6 separate regions of the Homo sapiens genome follow, and all the other regions are linked to region 2. Evidence: promoter capture Hi-C in 16 types of primary human blood cells and fetal thymus (Javierre and others, 2016). All regions are on one chromosome and are shown on one strand. The core of a region is centred on a gene start or on the middle of the fragment in contact, and the rest is flanking DNA. Distances in the headings are between cores, read along the strand shown.

Region 1 (3,716 bases), core at 101-2,600, 130 kb before region 2:
GCTTGCAGTGAGCCGAGATCGCGCCACTGCACTCCAGCCTGGACGACAGAGCAAGACTCCGTCTCAAAAAAAAAAAAAAAAAAGAACTCAGCCCCTGAGATGTCCCTGTGGGAACAGCCATGGTCACTGGGGAGTGAGCAGCCCTCAGCAGCTCTCTCCAAGAACATACATCATGTAGAGGCTCATCTATGCCTCTGCTGCAAGGTTCCTCTTCAGGCTGTGCCTGGCCAGGTGGGGGTTAATTTATTCTCTCCATCCCCCCACCCCCATCCTGTCACCCACCGTCCCATGTTCTGGGCTTACCTGCGCTCCGTGGAGTTCTAGGCCTGGGAGGAGCAGAGTGTACAGCCGAGCCCCAGGTGTGACTGTCTCTGGCACCTGAATCATTTCCCCAGCTGGCCAGAGTGGAGGTCAGGGAGGATCTGCTCAGGCCATGCCTGCCCCCACCCTGCCGGCTGCCCCTGGCCTCACCTGGGCTGGCAAATTGACCAGCACACTGGATATGGCTAAGGTCCCGCTGCACATCCACAGAGAGTGAGCCCTCCATCACATGGTTGCCACATGTGAACTTCAGCTGCACCTTGTAGTGGTTCACCATCAGGGCATCCAACTGAGCAGAGCTGCTCAAGGTCAACTGGGGTGGGTGGACAGTGCCATGTGGGGCTTGGAAATTTTAGGTCTGCCCTTGTGCCCCCACAGTCCCCAGCTGTACACATGACCCTACCTTGCCCACATAGGTCCCTTGCCACCTGGCCAAGCTGGGTGGGTTGAAGAAGGTGGTGGGTGGCTGGACATTGAGCAACTCCAGGGTGGGTGTGGGCGTGTAGGAGGAGCAGTTGAAGGATAAAAACTGAAGGACTGTGCCAGGGCCCTGGCTCTCAGAGACATTTATAAAGCAGGGCAGGCTGCAGAGGTCTGTGAAGAGCAGAGAATTCAGGCTGGAGGCCCCCAGGCTGATGGAACCACACATACTAGCATAGTCCTGTCCTTTTGCCACAGGGCCTGGCCATGCCATGGGGCCAAGCAGCTAAGGCCTTTCCTTGTATCCAGCATCCAGCATTTCACAGATGGGGAGTGAGAACTTGACTGAGGAAGTGGCCAAGAGAAGGGGTGAGGGCCAGGGGTTCAGATTCTTACACTTTCCTACCTCTCCCCCAATCCCTGTCCTCCATGGTAGCTTATCTGGGAAGGGTCAGGACTCCAAGGGAAAACTACGGTTCCCCCACCCACCACCTCCTCACCAGAGACCACCGGAGCAAAGAGGAACACGAGGAGCCTGAGCAGCACCATGATGACCTGAAGACACAGACAGCAGAGGAGGCTTCAGAAAGCTAGGCTGTTTGTCTGACTCACCCTGTTGCCAGGTCAGTTGCTCAAACATAGCTGGGCAGGCGGGACTCCTGGGCCTCCCAGATTCTATCCCCACCCATCCCTGGTGACTGAGTTCTAGACCTCTGGCAGGCTTCCAGAGGCTCAGAATATCCCATTTTCCATTGCCCCCATTCATTACAACTCTAAGGGCATGGAAGGGGAGGAGGATTAAGGTTCAGATGAGGAAACTGGTCATGCAATCCGTGGAGATAGAGCAAGCACAGCACCCAGGAAAATTTGGCCCAGGACCTGCTACCCCACAGAGTCTCAACTCCAGCTGGACCCCCTCCATTAGAACATTATCTGCCTATAAAAAATGAGCCCAACCGTCAACAAAATCTCTCAAAACTTGCTGGGTGTGGCGGCTTACATCTGTAATCCCAGCACTTTGGGAGGCTGAGGTGGGAGGATCACTTGAGCTCAGGAGTTCAATATCAGCCTGGGCAACAAAGTGAGACCCCATCTCTACAAAAAATTAGTTGGGTGTGGTGATCCAGGCCTGTAGTCCCAGCTACTCTGGAGGCTGAGGTAGGAGGATTGCTTGAACCCCAAGAGATCGAGGCTGCAGTGAGTCATGATTGTGCCACTGTACTCCAACCTGAGTGACAGAGCAAGACCCTGTCTCAAAAAAAAAGAAAAAAGAAAAAAAAAGTTGTCTACATCCAACAAGCAAAAGGAATCCTTTATGATAGAAATACAAATACTGGTTACCGTTGGGAATATCAGTTGGATAGGGCACCAGGTGGCATCCAGGAGTTGCTGAGGATGTTCTATATCTGGGTGGCAGCTGCACAAGTGTCTACAGATTTTAACATTTACTGGGCTGTAACTTTGAGATCTGTCTATTTATTGTATTTATATGTCAGTTTTTTTAAGTTTTCTGGCCAGGCACGGTGGCTTATGCCTGTATGGGAGGCTGAGGCAGGAGGATCGTTTGAGATCAGGAGTTCGAGACCAGCCTGGACAACATGGTGAAACCCTGTCTCTACAAAAAAAAAAAAAAAAAAAATTAGCTGAGTGTGGTGGCACATGCCTGTAGTCCCAGTTACTTGAGAGGCTGAGATAGGAGGGTCACTTGAGCCCCAGAGATGGAGGCTGCAGTGAGCCAAGATCATGCCACTGCACTCCAGCCTGGGTGACAGAGTGAGGCCCTGTCTCAAAAAAAAAAACAAAAACGGTTGTCTTTATTTGCCATCTCCAGTTCTTCAGTCCTCACTCTCTTCTCCACACACTCTAATCAGGCTTGTCCCTCTCTACACAAAACTGCCCTTGTCAGGGTTCCCAGTGACCTATGCACTGCCGAATCCAGTGGTTTGTTCTTCACCCTCACTGCCTAGGCAGCATTCAATGCTTGCTCCCCTTGGGTCCTGAGTCCCCACATTCTCAGATTTCTCCTGGCTGTTCCTGCTCAGCTTCTTTGATAGCTCTGCTTCATATCTCCCCTACCTCCACCTCATGGAATGTCCCAGGGCACAGTCCCGATTGCTGTCTCCCTCTGACTACACTGATTTCCTCCCACCCCACCTTATCCAGGCCTATGGCCTTACATACCATCCATTCACTCACTATGCCTCCCAGATCCAAGGCTCCAGTGCTGATCTCTCTCCTGAAGTCCAGAGTCATACACCTAGCAGCTGACTCTGCAACTCCTCTTGGATGTCTAACAGGCATCTCAAGGGTTACGTGTCCATAAATGATCATTGGATTTTCCTCTCCAAACCCACTCTTCTCCAGTCTTTCCCAGATCAGTTTATGGCAATTTCATCCAACCAGCTGTTAATGCCAGAAATGTAGGAGTCATGCTTGATGCCTCTTTTCCTGCCCACATCCATGCATCAGCAAGACTTGATTTTAGTTCCAAAACATACCCCAAAGTGACCCCCTTCAGTGCACCTGCCCTGCCCAGGCCTAGGCCCTCCCCTTCGTTGCCTGGATGAGGGCAGGGACTTCCACTCTTATTGCAGAATCCTTTTCTGAAAGCAGCTGGGATTATCTAAACAAGGGCTAGCCCAGGTCATTCCTGCTCAAAGGCCCCCATTGCTCCTCATCACACCAAGAACAAAACCCACATTCTGCTCTAAGGCCGTTAGAGCCTGGTTTTGCTGACCTTTTCCCTCCTGCCACCACCACCAATCACAGACACCTGGGCCTTCTTTATGTTTGGCCCTGTCCAGCTCCTGTCCGTCGGGGTCTCTTCCCTGGCTGCTCCTTCTGCCTAGAATGTTCTTCTTCTCCTTCTTCTCCTTCTCCTTCTTCTCCTTCTCCTCCTCCTGCTTCTTCTTCCTTTCTTTTTTTTTTGAGACGGAGTCTCACTCTGTCGCCCAGGCTGGAGTGCAGTGGCGCGA
Region 2 (3,552 bases), core at 435-2,934:
GGCCAGATCAGCTGGCCAGAGCTAGTGGATGCTTCCTTCACAATAGTTCTCCTGCCACCTGAGATCATACAGTATCTCAGCATCTCCTAGGTCAGTCTGGGGTCCAGCCAGAGGCCTGATGAAGCAAACAGCTCTCTGAATACTTACTCTGGAAACTCAGACAGGGAGGCTGAGTGAATCACAGCAAAATCCACCCCAACCCCCATTGGAGCCACAACTGTGCAACTGAAGCTCCTGGGAGGCTAGAATTGAAGAAGTTAGGCAAAGGAGGTCTCTTAGAACCAGCCCCAGATGCCCCTTCTCAGGGAACCCTTCTCAGACAACCCCTCTAGAAGCCCCAGGCCTTGCTTTTCCTAGAAGTGCCCTGCTATGCCTGTGAGCAATGTCACCAAACAAGTTGGCTCAATCAGCCCTTGTAGTGTGCCTCTCTCACTCAGGCAGCCTTGGAGCAGAGAAGGCCTTCAGAAGCCCCTCCCTACTGACTCCCTACCACTCCTGCTCCCTCTTCTTGCTTGGATAGCACTTCATTTCACCTTAACCCTTTGGAGCGGCCTGTCTGGAAAGGAGGTGCCAGGATACAGGATGTGTGGCAGACAAGGCCCAGGTGAGGCTGTGCTATGGCTGCTTCAGCAGGATGCCTACTCCATGCTGAGATCACAGTCTGGTCCTTGTCACTTCTGGCGGTTACTTCCCTCCCTGACAAAGGGTGCTCACTCTCCCTCTGCAAACTTGTGCCCAGAAAGGGTGGCTCACCCAGTACAAGGGACAACCCAGTTGCACCAGGCAAACTGGTGCAAAGTCCGGCCAGGCGCAGTGGCTCATGCCTGTAATCCCAGCACTTTGGGAAGCTGAGGCAGGCAGATCACCTGAGGTCAGGAGTTCAAGACGAGCCTGGCCAACATGGTGAAACCCCGTCTCTACTAAAAAAATACAAAAATACAAAAAATTAGCTGGGCGTGGTGGCGCATGCCTGTAATCCCAGCTACTCGGGAGGCTGAGGCAGGAGAATCGCTTGAACCTGGGAGGCGGAGGTTGCAGAGAGCTGAGATCACACCACTGCACTCCAGACTGGGCAACAAGAGTGAAACTCCGTCTAAAAACAACAAAGCAAAGACCCAAGCCCCTTCCAGGTGCTGCCCCGCTCATCCCAGTTACCTCTGTTGCTTTTTGAGAAGACTCTACCGGCCGAATATGTGTACGTTTGTTGGCGGGGCGGGGGTGGGGGAGTGGGGAGAGTCCTACCTGGCCACTGCCCCCTACCGGATCTCGCCCTCCCAGCCAAAGGATGGGTTCCAGATCTCGCCTTTTGTATTCCCCAGCTGGGGACTAGCCGGCTGAGGGACCGCAGGGAGACACAGTCTTCCCATTGCAAACGATAGCGTTGATGGCTGGAGGCCCCCGTCTTCAAGCCCCTCCCTCCAAAGATGACAGCTCTCCAGTCTCTAGGTGCCTCCAGGCCACGTGGGCTGGCAGTCAACTCACCTGTTTCTCAGAGGAGTCCAGGACGCACAGAAGGTGCCGGTCACTGCCCTCTGCCGGACCCATGGAGGGGTAAGGGTGTCCGGCCGGGGCCGGCCTGAGGGCACAGCTTCGCGGGGCCCCGGCCCCCTGCGTACACAGACATGGCCACAGCGCAGGCACCGCTCCCTCCCACCGCCCTCACCCGGCCGCCGGTGCAGGAAGATAGCTTTCGCCGGCCTCTCGCGGCCAAGGCCCAGCTCCAGCCGCTCAGCCCGACTCGGCCCGCCCCCGGGGTGCATTGTGGGAAATGTAGTCCTTAGCGTTTGGCCGCCTGCGGCGCCGAGGGACTGGTTCTGGGCTCCTAGTCCCAGCAGAGCCGTGGGCAGGTCCTGACCCGGGTCCGCGATTGCCTCATCCGGCGCCGCCTTCTAGGGGCCTGGGCGCCTCCTCCGAGTCTAGAGTCCCACACAGAACAGCCCTGGACTCTGGGCCTCTCCGTCCGAGCCAGCTAGCAGTTCATTTCAAGTGAGAGAAAGGGACGTTAGGATTGTTTCTCCCACTGATTGTGGAAGGACAGTGCAAGTTTGGGGGACTGGATAAATGTCATTAGTGGGCCCAGCCACACAGGCTGTAAAGGATGTGGGCATGCGCAAAAGTCGCACTAATTGTTTCTAAAAACATATTTGTAGCCACGTTTTAATGTATCAGTATAATGCTCTAGAACGGTAGTTCTCAACTCTGACGGCACATAGAATAAGCCGGGAAGCTTTAAAAAAAAAAAAAAAGAACTAGGACGGGCGAGGCGGCTCACGCCTGTAATCCCAACACTTGGGAGACCGAGGTGGGCGGATCACTTGAGGTCAGGAGTTCCAGACCAGCCTGGCCAACATGGTGAAACCCCATCTCTACTAAAAATACAAAAACTAGCCAGGCTTGATGGCGTGTGCCTGTAGTCCCAGATACTCGGGAGGCTGAAGTGGGATTCCAGGAGGTCGAGGTTGCTGTGAGCCATGATCATGCCCTGCACTCCAGCCTGAGCACCAGAGCGAGACCCTGTCTCAAAAACAACAACAAAAAAACTAATGCCTGGACACCAGCCCTAGAGATTTTGATTTAATTGAATTTAGAGTAGGGTGGAGTGTTGGGGAGCCAGGCATCACTATTGTTTTAAAAGCTCCCCAGGTGATTTACCATTGCAAAGAATCATTGTTTGTAATTTCCTAGACGCAAAGCAATAAAAACAACAGGAAAACAGTCAACAACAGGCTCTCCCAAAAGACCCTTATTTTTAGAGATGGTTTTAAAAAGTAAAATTAGTGTTTGGCACCACTGCTCATGTTCTTTTCTGAAGCAATTAATTCACTTTACAGCCTTATGGTTAATTCTCCCAAAAGTTAATAGGATGAAAAAAAAAGTCAGATCACTCCTCTGACTTTCCCTGCTGCTCCACAAGCACCTGGGGGCAGTGTCCTTTTCCTCTCTAAGCCCTACACTGGAGTTAGGGTAGAGCTCCGCCCCTGGGCTTTTCTTCCAGTCTCAGATGGCTGCCACTTGTAGCCTGCTTCCACAACACTGGCCTGTGACTGACATGGTGACAAAGCTGTGGCCTTTCACTGAAGATGGCTTTGCATAAGGCTATCAAGTTCTTGCACATAGTCTAAGGGAAGCTTTCTCACCCCCATGTCCCCCACTTTTAGGTAAGGACATAAGAAAATGCCCTATTCCTTAACTGAGAGTCTCTCCAGGTCTCCACAGATCACTCAGTATTTTATCTCCTCATTAGCTCAGAAGTCCAAGTTCCCTCCCTTAGGGCAAGAATCATTTATACAGTTGTTTTCTCTAATTATTACACTATAAGAGTTTGAGCCATGAGCTGGGCTTGGTGGCACAGCCTTGTAATCCCAATTACTCCACAGGCTGAAGCAGGAAGAATTACTTGAGCCCAGGAGATCAAGTCTGAAGTGAGCCATGATCATGGACAACAAGAAGGAGAAAGTTAAGAAAGAAGGAAGGAAGGGAGGGAGGGAGGAAGGAAGGAAGGAAGGAGAGTTTAAGTCAAGATATAACATTCTCTGCTTGGTACAGAAATGT
Region 3 (3,632 bases), core at 455-2,954, 230 kb before region 2:
TTGCTGCCTGGCAGGCCAGACATGGGGTGCCCTCTGGACTCAGCAGAGGCCAGGAAGGGGAGTGTCATCAGGCCAGGGGTCCCCTGGGAGCATCAGGAGGACCAGAGCTGCCCAACGTGGCATTTTCTCTACAGAGCAAGGACGAGAGAGCAAAGGACTGAGCCTGGCCAGCCAGCCTAGCCAGGGGGTTCTGAATGACTGCAGACTCGGGCTACGCAGAGGTGTGGGAGGGGCCACAGGGCCTGCCCTCTTCGGCCACAGCCCAGCACTTTTGTTCATGTTCCACAGTGGGGATTCCTGCAAGATCTTTAAGGAGGCAGCTCTTCCTGCTTCCCAGAATTGTTGGGAACTGCATGAGTGAGTGAGAGCATAGCTTTGAGCCCCTGGCTGGGAAGCCTCAGCTTGTAGCCGTTTTCTTGGTCTGGGGTCTTCCAGCCTCCAGGAGGCAGACACAAAGCTGGGAGACACAGAGGTCAGAGTTGGGGCCTGAGAAAAGGCCACCAGTCCCTCTCTCCAGCTTGTCCCACAGTCATCTGTTCCTGTGACAAGCCCTTATCGTGCACCTGCTGGGTACTGGAGCTGGTGGGCTTAACCACCACAGCTTTTTGTCAGGGAGCATGCCCTGGGGGTCAGACACATAGCAGCAACATGCCCCTGTGGTGGTGGGAGAGCTGTGGTAGGCACATCCAGGGATGGGCTCCTGGGGAAGGACTCTTGAGGGTGTGCAGAGTGCCCTTTGGCAAGCAGAGCCCTGCCTTGACACCCGCCAGCTTCGACGTGCTCCGCTCCGTCGTCTTCTTTTACATCAAGAGCCCCCTGCGTGTGGAGGAGGCCGGCCTGCAGGAGCTCATTCCCACCACCTGGTGGCCCCACTGCTCCAGTAGGGAGGTGAGTGCACCCCAAGTGGGATGGGCAGAGGTCATGGCAAGGCCCCTGGCCTGGGCATCTGGCCACTGGGCATCTAGCATGAGGCCTTTTCACTGGCCCTGGTCCCTGAAGCCCTGGAGATGGAGTGTGGGTGTTCTGAGTGAAGGAGGCCTGGCTAGGTCCCAGGTGACCCTGCTGTATTCCACCTGCTACCCCTGCCTAGGGCAAAGAGAGCACGGAGATGAAGGAGGAGACCGCAGAGGAGCGGCTGCGGCGGCGAGCCTACGAACGGGGCTGTCAGCGGCTCAGGAAGCGCATCGAAGGTCAGCCCGCCTTGGGCACGGGGTAGGGTGGGAGGTGTGTGTGTGCACATGAGGGTGCTTGGAGGTGCCCATGTCTAGGTGGGACTTGGGGAACCCTGGTGGTGGAGCCCTGGCCCAAACCTGCCCCCCATCTCCTGGAGCCTGAGGGCCATGTTCCTCACCTGACCTCCAGTGGTGGAAGAACTACAGGTCCAGATCCTGAAGCTGCTGCTGGACAATAAAGATGACAATGGGGTGAGTGACTCCCAGGAGCCCTGGGTGGGGCCCTGTGGGGAGGGATGCTGCACTGGGCCTTAAGACCCAGAGGGTGGGAACTGGGTTTGGTTCCCATGGCAGGGGCTGGGGGAAGGTGCAGCACTGAGCCAGCCCAGTCTGGGCCTGCATTCTCAGCTCAGCACAGCCTCACTTTTCCCTCTCTCAAAGGGTGAAGCTTCTAGGTATATCTTCCTGACCAAGTTTCGCAAGTTTCTGCAGGAGAACGCCAGTGGCCGGGGGGTAGGTGTCCTCCAGGCCAGCCCACTGTGGATCCCCGGCTGCACTACACATGCCATGCCCTCAGCACCTGGCACTTCTCGGACTGCCTCATCCCTGCCTAGCCCCAAGCTTTTCTCTGCTGCTTTTCCCTCCCTGCTTAACCCTCGACCCTCAGGCAGGGCCTTGGATGAGGAATGGGCAAGGCACTGGACTGGCACCAATGCATGTTTCATGCCTGGTGTCCACAGAACATGCCCATGCTCTGCCCCCCTGAGTACATGGTCTGCTTCTTACACCGGCTGATCTCTGCCCTGCGCTACTATTGGGATGAATACAAGGCTTCCAATCCTCATGCTTCCTTCAGTGAGGGTGAGTGGCACCGGGGTCCCAGGTCAGTGAGGCTGGACAGAGCCAGGCGTAGGGCAGCCCCTAATGTTAGTGCAGAGTGCTGAGCTGAGGCTGTGGGCTGTGGGGAGTTGTCCCCGGCATCCTGCCTGGTTGAGTCCTACCCAGCCACAGGCGGCTTCTCCACTGGGGCAGCAGGAGCCCTGCACCGCAGGCCTGCCGATCCTGTGTTTGCTCTGATTGTCCCACGGGCTCCTACCATTGTGGGCTCTTTTCTTCCGTCCTTGCCCCCCCATTTCTCTGTGCGTCCTTTATAGGGCTGCCTTGGGTGGGTGCTGGGGGGCCCTGTGTTTGAGTCCCCAAGGGTCAGTGGGAGCCTTACCTGCCCTGGATTGGGGGATATCCCACAGGACTGGGGCTGGGCCTCTCTGCTTCTCCTGAGTGAACGGCTGCCATGAGTACCCCCATCACCCCAAGTTATGCAGCTGCTGGCTCTGACCTGAAATGGCAGGGGTGGAGAAGAGGTAGGGGAGGTCTGTTTCTTGGTCCAGGAGACAGTTTCTCTGTCTGCCTGGATGGGTGAGTGGCCAAAGCCAGAATTCCCAGGCTGTGCTAGGCCAGATTGGAGGGGAGGGCTGTGGGGAGGGTCTTCCTACTGGGCCGTGACCACTGGCCTAGCCTCCTCAATTCCTCGCAGAGGCCTACATCCCGCCCCAGGTCTTCTATAATGGCAAGGTGGACTACTTTGACCTGCAGCGCCTGGGGGGCCTCCTCTCGCACCTGCGGAAGACCCTCAAAGGTGTGTACAGGCCTGTGGGCCGGGAGCAGTTCTGGGGCCAGGTGGGGGACTGTCCCTGAGCCTGCTCTGCTGTGGATGCTGAGCCATCCTATGGCCACCAGAGGGTGCCCAAGTCTTTCCACCCACTCAGGCAGGGAGACACTGATCTGCCTGCCCTACATCTGGGCAGCTTCTCTTTCCCGCCAGCACCCACGCCATAGGGGTCGGGCGTGCCTGGCAGGGGACCAGGGATCTTGGTGAGGTGTGGATGGGGCGTGCAGGTGCTGCCGGAGCTGCCTTCAGGGATGAGCACAAGCTGCCCCGGTGCAGGGCTGAGGGCACAGCGAGAGCAAGGCCCTGAGCCGGGCACAAGGGTGGGTCTGTGCTGTCAGAACCTCTCTCTGGCTGCCGCAGTGTATACGCCGGAGTGCAGGGGCTGAGAGACAGGGAGCCCAGGTGTCCCCACACAGGAGATAAGGGCCTGCCCAGGTAGGTAGGGGAGGGCACAGGTGGAGGAGAGGAGTCAGGATGACCCCAGGCTTCCTGCCAGAGGTTGTGTGGATGGGGTGCCATCAGGGAGAGGGGCTGCAGGAGGTGGTGGAGATGAGAAATTCTGTTTGGACACAGCGCGTTTAGCGGGGAGCAAGGCCTGGGCGGGGGGCAGCGAAGGCGGGGTCAGTTGTCAGCACGGTGGTGGGGATGAGCCTGGGATGAGGCTTGGCTCCCACTGGGAGTGCCCAGAATGAAGCAGCCCTGGCATCTCCTTTTGTTTATGGAGTAGTCAGAGAGTGGGGGAGGCCCTGGAGAGCAGGAAGTCCTGGGAAACAAAGCCAGGGACCAGCAGG
Region 4 (3,677 bases), core at 970-3,469, 160 kb before region 2:
AATGGGGAGAGTTCCTATTTGGGATGATGAAAGTAGTTCTCAAAACATCATTGTGAATGTATTTAATGCCACTGCATCATACCCTTCAAAATAGTTAAAATTCTACATTTTCTCATGTATATTTACTACAATTTAAAAATTTCATTTACAATAGCATCAAAAAAATCAAATGTCTTGGGTCAAATTTAACAAAACGTGAAAGAATTCTACATTAAAAACAATGAAATAATGTAGCAAGATAGTAAAGAAGGCATAAATCAAGAAATATGCCTCACACAGCACATGGATTAGAAGGCTCAATATAGTTAAGATGTCAATTCTCCCCAAATGAATCTATAAATTCAGTGGAATCTCAACCATAATGGCAGGAGACTTTTTTACAGAAATTGACAAGCTAATTCTAAAATTTATATGGTAATAAAAAGAAACTGTAATATTCAAATAAATCTTGATAAACAATAAAGTTGGGTTATTTACACTGCCTCATGTCAAGACTTCCTATAAAGCTACAGTAGTGGGGTACTGGCATATGGATAAACAAATAGATCAATGGAACAGAACACAGATTTCACAAACAGGCCCATATCTACAGAGTCAATTGTTTTTGGGATTTTTGCCAGCGACAAATCAGGATATAACAGTCAATTGTTTTTCGACAAAAGTACCAAAGCAAACCAATGGGGAGAGAAAATTTTGGTAGTTTTAAACTATGTCAAATTTTTTTACATTCTTCCCTCTAAAAAGTGAAATCCTCCTCTCTCCTTGAGTACAGGCTAGACTTAGGGACTCATTCTAATGAAAAGAATATGGCAGAAGTGACAGTGTATGACTAGGTCATAAGAGGCTTCATGGTTTCTTCCTTACTTTGTCTTAGATCATTTCTGTAGGAGATAACTGCACGCCATGAGGAAACTCAAAGAGCCCTGTGTATAACTTGTTAGCTTTAAAGTAGGGAAAATTTAAAAACAAACAAACAAAAGCCCTGGGTAGAGATAAACAATATGGAACTGAGGCTTCCTGCAAAGAGCTTTATGAATAAGTCATCTTGAAAACAGATCCTCTAAGCCAAGCATGGTGGCTCAGGCCTATAATCCCAACACTTTGGGAGGCCAACAGGGAAAGATCACTTGAGCCCAGGAGTTCAAAACCAGCCTGGGCAACATCTCTACAAAACATAGAAAAAACTAGCCCTGCATGGTGGTGCATGCCTGTAGTTCCAGCTTGAGAGGCTGAGTTGGGAGGATCACTCAAGCCCAGGAGGCCAGGGCTGCAGTAAGCTGTGATCACCACTTCACTCTAGCCTGGGCCACTTCTGAATTCCTAGCCCTCAGAAACTGAGGTAATAACTGTTTGCTGTTTTAAACTGCTAAGTTTTGGAATAATTTGTTACAGAGCAATAGATAATACACAAGTCTTTTCAACAAATGTTGCTAGTAATGGAACAATCAGTTATCTATGTGGGGGAAAAAGAAACACCAGCCCCAATCTCACACAATAACAAAAATTAACTTAGGATGACTCAGAGACCAAAATGTAAAAGCTAAAACTAGAAAGCTTGTAGGTGAAAACACAAAAAATAAAGTTAGGCTGGGCATGGTGGCTCATACCTATAATACCAGCACTTTGGGAGGCCAAGGTGTGCAGAGCTCACCTGTAGTCTTAGCTACGCGGGAGGCTGAAGTGGGAGAATGGCTTGAGCCCAGGAAGTGGAGGGTGTAGTGAGCGGAGATCATGCCACTGCACTCCAGCCTGGGTGACAGAACCAGACCCTGTCTCAAAAAAAATAAAGTTATATGATTTACACTACCTGACTTCAAGCCTTGCTAGAAATGTCCAACACTTAAGAGGTAGGCAAGGTGTCCTCAGACACTCAGACAGAACACAGAAAGCAATAACCATAACAGAAATTATTGATAAATCGGACTTCATCAAAATTGAAAACCTCTGATTATTTATTTATGAGATGGAGTCTTGATCACACCCGTATTCCTAGCATCTTGTGAGGCCCAGGCAAGAGGAATGCTTGAGGTCAGGAGTTCAGGATCAGCCTGGGCAAATATGCTGAGACCTCCGTTGCTACAAAAAATTTTTAAAAAGAAAATAAGCTGGGCATGGTAGTATGCACATGTAGTCCTAGCTACTAGGGAGGCTGAGGCAGGAGGGTCGTTTAAGCCCAGGAGTTAGAGGGTACACTAAGTTATGATCACGCTACTACACTCCAGCCTGGGCAACAGAGCAAGACCCTGTCTCTAAAAAAACAAAACAAAAAACAAAAAATATAGTATCCAGAATACAAAAAAACTTCCTAAAACTCAGTAACAAAAAAAAAAAAAAAAAAAAAAAACCCTGCCAGGCACAGTGGTGAACACCTATAGTCCCAGCTACTTGAGAGGATGAGGCAGAAGGATCCTTTGAGCCCAGAAGTTCAAGTCCAGCTTGGGCAACATAGGGAGGCCCTATCTCTAAAAGATACATTTCTTTAAAAAATAAAAAAGCCAATTTTAAAAAAAAATGGGCAACAGATTTGAATACATACTTCACAAACGAAGATACACAAAGACCATTAAGTACAGGAAAAGGTGCTCAATATCATTAGCATTCAGGTAAGTGAAAATTAAAACCACAATGAGTTACCACTATACTTTCACCCAAATGGCTAAAATTAAAAACACACTACAACACACTTAATGTTGCTAAATGTGGAACAACCACAACTCTCATACATTACTGGTGAGAGTGTAAAAATGGTACAACCATTTTGGAAAAGGTATTATAGTTTCCTATAAAGCTAAACATACATCTATCCTATGACCCAGCAATTCTAGTCTCTTCAAGAGAAATGAATGTGTATGTCCACACAAAAAACCTTTGCAAAAAAGTTCATAAAAGCTTTACTCATAAGGCAAACACTGGAAACAGCCCAAATATCTATCAACAGAATAAACAAACTGTAGTGTTAATGCAATGAAATACTATATAGCAATAAAAATAAACTACTGATACAGACAACAGCATGTATAAATTAAAACACTACACTGTGTGAAAGAAACCTTACTCAAGAGTGGCCAGGCGTGGTGGCTCACACCTGTAATCCCAACACTTTGCGAGGCCAAAGAGGGAGGATCGCTTGAGCCCAAGAGTTTGAGACCAACCTGGGCAACATGGCAAGACCTCTACAGAAAATTTTTTTAATTAGCTGGGTGCAGCAGTGCACACCTGTAGTCCCAGCTACTTGGGAAGCTGAGGTGGGAAGATCCCTTGAGCCCAAGGTGGGTTCAAGGTGGCAGTGAGCTATAATTGCACCACTGTACTCCAGCCTGGGTGACAAAACAAGACCCTTTCCCTTAAAAAAAAAAATATATATATATATATATGTGTGTGTGTGTGTAACACATATATATGTAATATATATGTTATATAGTCTTCCTTTTTAACTTAATATATTTTATATATATAATATATAGGAAGACTATATAATATATAAAATATATATATATAGAAGGCTATATATACATATATTGTCTTCTTATATTCTAGAGCGTTCTCTTTTTTGAGACAGGGTCTTACTCTGTTACCCAGGCTAAAGTGCAGTGGCACGATCATGATTCACTGCAGCCTCCATCTCCTGGTCTCAAGCAATCCTCCCATCTCAGCCTCTCTAGTAGCTGGGACTATAG
Region 5 (3,837 bases), core at 731-3,230, 130 kb after region 2:
TGGTCTGAATGTGTCCTGGTCCCTGGAGTGGGTTTTTAGATTGATGTGGACTCTTCTTAGACTTGTAAGTAAAAAAGTTGTTTCTTCCCCTAAAAGGGAACTGTGCGCCTTAGACCTGGAATTGCTGGGAAACTGAAACATTCTGTAGACTTACTTGTTTCCAACTGTATCGCAGCAAGAAGTCTATGTGCCCCAGGATCCTGGATTACCTGAGGAAGAAGAGATCAAGGAAAAAAAACCCACCAGTCAAGGAAAGTCAAGTAGCAAGAAGGAAATGTCTAAAAGAGATGGCAAGGAGAAAAAAGACAGAGGAGTGACGAGGGTAAGAGGAATTGTTAATTTGCTGTCTTTTGCCACATAGTTATTAAAATGTTGGAGGTACGAACAGAGGATATCTATGTTTGCAAGTGTAAAGTAACTTTAAAAATACTCTGTCAGCCGGGCGTGGTGGCTAACGCCTGTAATCCCAGCACTTTGGGAGGCCAAGGCGGGCGGATCATGAGGTCAGGAGATCGAGACCATCCTGGCCAACATGGTGAAACCCCTGTCTCTACTAAAAATACAAAAATTAGCTGCGTGTGGTGGTACACGCCTGTAGTCCCAGCTACTCAGGAGGCTGAGGCAGGAGAATTGCTTGAACCCTGGAGGCAGAGGTTGCAGTGAGCCGAGATCGCGCCACTACACTCCAGCCTGGCAACAGAGCAAGACTCTGTATCAAAAAAAAAAAAAAAACCTCTGTTAATGAGTATTTTTACCTGGTGTAGGCAATTCCCTCACCTCTTATATCCCAACTCTCTCTTTTACAAATGGGAAAACTATGGATGGTAGAACAAAGTGGCCCAGCTCAAATCCCAACACCTCAGCTCCATACATTTTCACTTTTCTACATTCCTTTTTTAGTGTTTGACTTTATACACATTTCTCTAGTTGTAATTATAGCAGGAGATACTGTTTAGTCACTTTTTATCCTAAGTATTTTTTCCATGTTTCTATATACTCTATTATTTTTAATGCCCACATGGTAAAAATTCACGGTATAACTGTACCTTCATTTTCTTCATCTCTCCTACATTATTTGTCTTCTCTTTCTAATCTTTTCTTTTTCCTTTTTTTTTTTTTTTTTCTGAGACAAAGTCTTCCTCTGTCTCCCAGGTTGGAGTGCAGTGGCATGATCATAGCTCACTTCTACGTCAAACCCATGGGCTTAAGCAGTCCTCCCACCTCAGCCTCCCAAGTAGCGGGGACTACAGGCATGAGCCACCATGACCAGCTAATTTTTGCTTTTTTGTAGAGACAGGATCTTGCTAGATTGACCAGGCTGATCTCGAACTTCTGGCCTCAAGTAAGCTTCCTGTCTCAGTCTCCCAAAGTGCTTCAGTTACAGGCAAGACCCACCTTGCTCGCCTCTTTCTAATCTTATACTGTCATAATATATAACATTTAGCATTTTGTTTCTTCTTTTAAATTACTCCCTATGACACATTTTCAGAATCAGAGATGATGAACATTTTTACATCTAATACAAAATCAAATTATTAGGCAGGGTGCAGTGGCTCACACCTGTAATCCCAGCACGTTGGGAGGCCAAGACAGGTGGATGCCTGAGTTTAGGAGTTTGACACCAGCAACATGGTGAAACTCCATCTCTACCAAAAATACAAAAAAAATTAGCCTACTGTGGTGATGCATGCCTGTAGTCCAAGCTACTTGGGAGACTGAGTTAAGAGGATCGCTTGAGCCCAGGAGATTGCAGTGAGCTGTGATTGCGCCACTGCACTCCAGCATGGACAACAGAGCCAGACTTGTCTCAAAAAAAAAAAAAAAAGAAAATCTGCCGGGCATGGTGGCTCATGCCTGTAATCCCAGCACTTTGAGAGGCCAAGGCAGGCGGATTACTTTAGGTCAGGAGTTTGAGACCGCCTAGCCAATATGGTGAAACCCCCATCTCTACTAAAAAGACAAAAATTAGCTGGACGTGGTGGCGCAAGCCTGTAGTCCCAGCTACTCAGGAGGCTGAGGCAGGAGAATCTCTTGAACCTGAGAGGCAGAGGTTGCAGTGAGCCAAGATCACACCTACCTTGATATCAGTTATGCATTAGTGAAAATGGATGAATTTGCTTGTGATTCAATTCATAACACCTTTTTTTCCCTTTTTTTTCTTTTGAGACGGAGCCGCTCTGTCGCCCAGGCTGGAGTGCAGTGGCGTGATCTATCTCGGCTCACTGCAACCTCCGCCTTCCAGGCTCAAGGGATTCTCCTGCCTCAGCCTCCTGAGTAGCTGGGATATCAGGCGCTGCCACAACGCCCAGCTAATTTTTGTATTTTTAGTAGAGACGCGGTTTCACCATGTTGGTCAAGCTGGTCTCGAACTCCTGACCTTGTGATCCGCCCACCTCAGCCTACCAAAGTGCTGGGATTACAGGCATGAGCCACTGCGCCCAGCCTTTTTTTCCCCTTCTAACACTGTTAGTTGTTTAGAGATACAGAAAAGAGGAGAGAGAGTGTGTGTGTGTGTTTAAAAACTTAGAGTCATACTGATTTAATATTTGGACTCTGCTTCAGCCACTTAATCTGTCAAACTATATTCCCAATCATTTGTAAAATTAAGATAGTAAAGCTTACATAGGAGGATCATAGTAAAGTCTGAAGAAGACAATGTTTATATATACATGCCTCATCTGGTCTGACATACAGTAATCATGCAATATATACTAACGTTTTATTTTATTTTATTTTATTTTTTGAGACAGAGTCTCTCTCTGTCACCCAGGCTGGAATGGAGTGGCACGATCTCGGCTCACTGCAACCTCTGCCTCCCAGGTTCCAGCAGTTCTTCTACCTCAGCCTCCCAAGTAGCTGGGATTACAGGCCAAAACCACCACACCCAGCTAATTTTTGTATTTTTACTAGAGACGGGGTTTCACCATGTTGGCCAGGCTGGAGCACAGTGGCACAATCTTGGCTCACTGCAAGCTCCGCCTCTCGGGTTCATTCTCCTGCCTCAGCCTCCCTACTAACTGGGACTACAGGTGCCCGCCACCACGCCCAGCTAATTTTTTGTATTTTTAGTAGAGATGGAGTTTCACTGCATTAGCCAGGGTGGTCTCGATCTCCTGACGTTGTGATCCACCTGCCTTGACCTCCCAGAGTGCTGGGATTATAGGCGTGAGCCACCGCACCCAGCCCAGCCTTTATCAGTTATTATGAGTGAATATCATGTGAGAGTTACCTCTGGTTTGATCAGTTTCAGGAAAATGCCAGTGAAGGGAAGGCCCCTGCAGAAGACGTCTTTAAGAAGCCCCTGCCTCCTACTGTGAAGAAGGAAGAGAGTCCCCCTCCAGTAAGACCAACATTGATCCCCTGGACCTAGGGCTGGGGCTGGGGATGGTTCCGAGTAGAAGAGGAAGCGCAAAGGCTGATGCCTTCCTCTGGTGTTGGTCTTTTACCTCACTATGTCTCCCGAATAAGGATTCCCATTTCTTTTGAGTACAAGCATGAGATAAAGTTTTCTGTCTGCTAATGGGGGTATTACTGGAGAACCAGAGGCAGTTATCTGGACTCTTTCTCTCTGCCCTGTGCCATTCTTACCAGACGAGATGCCTAGCCCTTTTTATCATCTTGTTCTTGTCAGTTCTCTAAATCACCAAGGAAACCCGTTTTCTCAGCCTCAATCTTTCCTGCCTTTTGGCATCACACAAGAATCTCTTAGATATGGAGTGCATGCGTGGTCATTTTTTTATAGTTTCTGCCTGTTCAGAGTGAATGATGCTAATATTGGTGCCCATTTTTTAGATGCCTTCAAGCAGTAGTCTCAACCTAATCACCAGTGATTCTGAT
Region 6 (3,645 bases), core at 958-3,457, 200 kb before region 2:
CTGATGAGGTTCTCCAGGCCAAACACGTAGCCTCTGTCTGGCCCATCATGCACGGTGGGGTCATCCCGGAAGCCCTTGAATGTGCTGTGTGCAAAGTCAATCATGCGGACATCCACCTTGGGCTGAGAGGAGGGACCCGCCTCGGGGCTGGTGTTGCTGGGGCTGGTGCTGGGGCCACAGGATGACGCCACCTCAGGGAGCACCATGTCCAGGTGCTTGAGACGCATCTCAGACCGGCGGTCCAGGCAGGACTCAGCCCGGCACTCCTTGCCATCATAGATGACAAGCAGGGAACTGGAGTAGAAGCGGTAAGAGGCCTGCCGCTCCAGCACAGCTTTCAGGCCCCGCAGTTTGCTCAGGATAGGCTCAAACAGGTCACGTCGCAGGTCCAGGCCATTGTGCAGATATTGATAGAGGGCATTGCGGAAGCCTTCAATGGAGAGCCCACGGCCATAGTACTTGTTCCTGCAGAGGTAATGCCCTGTGTCCAGCTGGTACACCTGAAACCCCAGGAGGCAGACAGGGTGAGTGCCAGGGAAGTCTGAAGAGCTCACAGTGCCCTGGGCAAACACTGTCTGGAAGGGACTTTGACCAACCTGAGCTTTTCTGCTCACCTATCTAAGTGGAACCAGGCAGGCCACATTCACCCTGGGTTTTCCCATTGCAGAACCAAGAGAAAGCAATACCAGGCCTATGGGTTCCCTGCCCCCAGCTTTGGAGCCCTCCTCCAACATCGGAACATCTTGTTGACAGGCAAGAGTCTTATTTGTCCCAATGTCGAGGCAGCAGACTCTCACAGTGGTCCTGCACCTGAGGCCCATATCAAAGTCAACAGGTAAGGACAGAGGGGCTCAGGAGGACACACTTGGCATAGATGGCAGGCAGGTATGAGCACAACCCAAATCATGCAAGTGGCAGCACCTAGGCTCTGAGCAGAGGTAACTCACCTGCATGCCGCAGACCCTGACGCCCAGCGTGGCTGATGTGCTCTGCTCGCATTTCCGCATCTGCCGGGCTGCCTTCTCAGCTGACGCGTCATCGCCATGCTGCCGCGTGCCCATCTTCAGGTCCAACACGCAGGGGTACTTGAAGTGGTGCACCACGTTCTCAAGCAGGAGGAACTCTGGGCCACGGTCAAGGAGAATGACAACCACACTCACCATCAGCCCCAGCCAGGAAAGCACAACCCAGTTTTTCTATAAAAGGGGGCTTTTACCTAATGCAGTATGTACTTGTCTCAAACTCTCAAATATGGGTTTCACACCACTGGCTTATTACTTAACCAATAAAAACTGTGGTAAAATATACATAAAATTTACTTCAGCCATTTTTAAGTGTACAATTCAGTGGCATGAAGTACATTTACTTTGTTGTATAACCATCACAACCATCTATCTCTACTCACAACCATCTATCTCTAGAACTTTTCTTTTTTTTTGAAACGGAGTCTCGCTCTGTTACCCAGGCTGGAGTGCCCTGGAGTGATCTCGGCTAACTGCAACCTCTGCATCCCAGGTTCAAGCTATTCTCCTGCCTCGGCTGCCTGAGTAGCTGAGATTACAGGTGCCCGCCACTACACCCGGCTCATTTTTTGTATTTTTAGTAGAGACAGGGATTCACCATGTTGGCCAGGCTGGTCTCGAACTCCTGACCTTGTGATTCGCCTGCCTCAGCCTCCCAAAGTGCTGGGATTACAGGTGTGAGCCACCACGCCCAGCTAGAACTTTTTCATCTTCCCAAAATGAAAAGAGATCCTCTCACCCTCAGCCTCTGGAACAACTAGGACTACAGGCATGCCTAATTTTTTTTTTTTTTTTAGATGGAGTCTCGTTCTGTCACCCAGGCTGGAATGCAATGGCGCCATCTCGGCTCACTGCAACCTCTGTCTCAGGGGGTTCAAGCCATTTTCCTGCTTGTACCCATTAAATAGCACTGAACAGTGACTCCTCATTTTCCCTCCTCCCAGCCCCTGGGAACCTCTAGTCTACTTTCTGTCTCTATACATTTACCTTTCCTGGGTATCTCATAAGTGGAATTATACAGTATTTGTCATTTTAAATGTCTGGCTTATTTCACTTAGCAGAATGTATTCAAGATTCATTTATGTTGTAAGCATGTATCAAAATTTCATTCCTTTTTCTGGCTAAATAATTTTCCATTGTATGTATATATCACAAACTTTTTTGTTGTTGTTTTTTGGTTTTTTAACCTAAGCTCTAGGGTATTTTTATGTTGATTTATTTTTGTTATTTTTTATTTTATTTTTTTTTTGAGACGGAGTTTCGCTCGTTGCCCAGGCTGGAGTGCAATGGCACTATCTCAGCTCACCGCAACCTCCGCCTCCTGGTATCAAGTGATTCTCCTGCCTCAGCCTCCCGGTAGCTGGGATTACAGGCATGTGCCACCATGCCTGGCTAATTTTGTATTTTTAGTAGAGACGGGGTTTCTCCATGTTGGTCAGGTTGGTCTTGAACTCCCCCGACCTCAAGTGATCTGCCTGCCTTGGCCTCCCAAAGTGCTGGGATTACAGGCGAGAGTTACTGTGCCCAGCCTTATTATTATTATTTATTTTTATTTTTTATTATTTTTTTTGAGACAGAGTCTCACTCTGTTGCCCAGGCTGGAGTGCAGTGGCTGGATCCAGAGCTCGCTGCAGCACTGACCACCTGGGCTCAAAAGATCCTCCCACCCTCAGCCTCTGGAACAGCTAGGACTACAGGCATGCCTAATTTTTCTTTTAATTATTATTTTTTTTGAGACAGAGTCTTGCTCTGTCACCCAGACTGTAGTGCAGTGGTGCAATCTCAGCTCATTGCAACCTCTGCCTCCTGGGTTCAAGCCATTCTCCTGCCTCAGCCTCCCAAGCAGCTGAGACTACAGGTGTCTGCCACCACCCCCAGCTAATTTTTTGTATTTTGAGTAGAGCAGGGTTTTACCATGTTGGCCAGACTGGTCTGGAACTCTTGACTCCAGGTGATCTGCCCACCTCGGCCTCCCAAAGTGCTAGGATTACAGGCATGAGCCACCGCGCCCAGCCGCCTACCTAATTTTTAATGTTTTTTTTAGAGACAGGGTCTCACTATGTTGTCCAGGCTGGTCTTGAACTCCTAGCCTCAAGTGATCTTCCCACCTTGGCCTCCAAAAGTGCTGAGATAACAGATGTGGGCCACCACACCCAGCCTATGTTATCTTTAGACCTATCTTGCAGGCAATATGCAAACTAAAGATTTGGATACATCCCTCACCATCAGTGAACCAAGGCCCTACTCAAGCCAGCACCTTGCCCAGGCCTAAGAAATAAGGAAGACATCTTGGTAGCACTACTACAAAAACAAGGAAACCAGATTCTAACATTCCCAAATAGGAATCTTTAGAAAAAGCTGGATTTACATTTCTTTTCTTTTTTTTTAGGATGCAGTCTTGCTCCTTTGCCCAGGCTGGAGTGCAGTAGCACAATTTCAGCTCACTGCAACCTCTGCCTCCCAGGTTCAAGTGATCCTCCTGCCTTAGCCTCCCAAGTAGCTGGAACTATAGGCGCATGCCACCATGCCCGACTAATTTTTTGTATTTTTTTTTTTGAGATGGAGTTTCACTCTTGTTGCCTAGGCTGGAGTGCAATGGCGCAATCTTGGCTCATCGCAACCT

The links. The method cuts DNA at HindIII sites, captures the fragments that hold promoters and counts their contacts. A CHiCAGO score of 5 or more calls a contact.
Region 1: the fragment with the promoter of CDHR4 here is called in contact with the fragment with the promoter of MON1A in region 2 in 1 of 17 cell types (endothelial precursors); the score reaches 5.5 in endothelial precursors.
Region 3: a fragment that was not itself captured here is called in contact with the fragment with the promoter of MON1A in region 2 in 4 of 17 cell types (endothelial precursors, megakaryocytes, fetal thymus and 1 more); the score reaches 10.1 in endothelial precursors.
Region 4: a contact is called between a fragment that was not itself captured here and the fragment with the promoter of MON1A in region 2, in 1 of 17 cell types (endothelial precursors). The highest score is 5.1, in endothelial precursors.
Region 5: a fragment that was not itself captured here is called in contact with the fragment with the promoter of MON1A in region 2 in 1 of 17 cell types (endothelial precursors); the score reaches 7.1 in endothelial precursors.
Region 6: a fragment that was not itself captured here is called in contact with the fragment with the promoter of MON1A in region 2 in 1 of 17 cell types (endothelial precursors); the score reaches 5.1 in endothelial precursors.

What each region holds. Positions count from the first base shown.
Region 1 is chr3:49,798,523-49,802,238 of GRCh38, forward strand. It overlaps CDHR4 (cadherin related family member 4), which reads right to left and starts at 1,351. Exons shown (of 19, transcript NM_001007540.4): 1 at 1,242-1,351; 2 at 725-915; 3 at 472-634; 4 at 304-395. The coding sequence starts at 1,290. The HindIII fragment of the contact is 36,577 bases long and covers 1-3,716 here.
Region 2 is chr3:49,928,127-49,931,678 of GRCh38, forward strand. It overlaps MON1A (MON1 vesicular trafficking associated A), which reads right to left and starts at 1,685. Exons shown (of 6, transcript NM_032355.4): 1 at 1,483-1,685. RefSeq lists a silencer at 1,392-1,741. The HindIII fragment of the contact is 4,855 bases long and covers 1-2,225 here.
Region 3 is chr3:49,700,721-49,704,352 of GRCh38, forward strand. It overlaps RNF123 (ring finger protein 123), which reads left to right. Exons shown (of 39, transcript NM_022064.5): 16 at 771-888; 17 at 1,091-1,190; 18 at 1,363-1,424; 19 at 1,614-1,685; 20 at 1,913-2,033; 21 at 2,707-2,808. Among named protein-coding and RNA genes, the nearest start is that of RNF123, 13 kb to the left of the region's middle. RefSeq lists a silencer at 2,836-3,130. The HindIII fragment of the contact is 173 bases long and covers 1,619-1,791 here.
Region 4 is chr3:49,768,869-49,772,545 of GRCh38, forward strand. All of the region lies in intron 1 of IP6K1 (inositol hexakisphosphate kinase 1), which reads right to left. Among named protein-coding and RNA genes, the nearest start is that of IP6K1, 16 kb to the right of the region's middle. The HindIII fragment of the contact is 1,335 bases long and covers 1,553-2,887 here.
Region 5 is chr3:50,061,787-50,065,623 of GRCh38, forward strand. It overlaps RBM6 (RNA binding motif protein 6), which reads left to right. Exons shown (of 21, transcript NM_005777.3): 15 at 176-322; 16 at 3,245-3,340. Among named protein-coding and RNA genes, the nearest start is that of RBM5, 25 kb to the right of the region's middle. The HindIII fragment of the contact is 1,270 bases long and covers 1,346-2,615 here.
Region 6 is chr3:49,727,156-49,730,800 of GRCh38, forward strand. IP6K1 (inositol hexakisphosphate kinase 1) reads right to left here. Exons shown (of 6, transcript NM_153273.4): 5 at 948-1,123; 6 at 1-500. Among named protein-coding and RNA genes, the nearest start is that of GMPPB, 5.0 kb to the left of the region's middle. The HindIII fragment of the contact is 6,459 bases long and covers 1-3,645 here.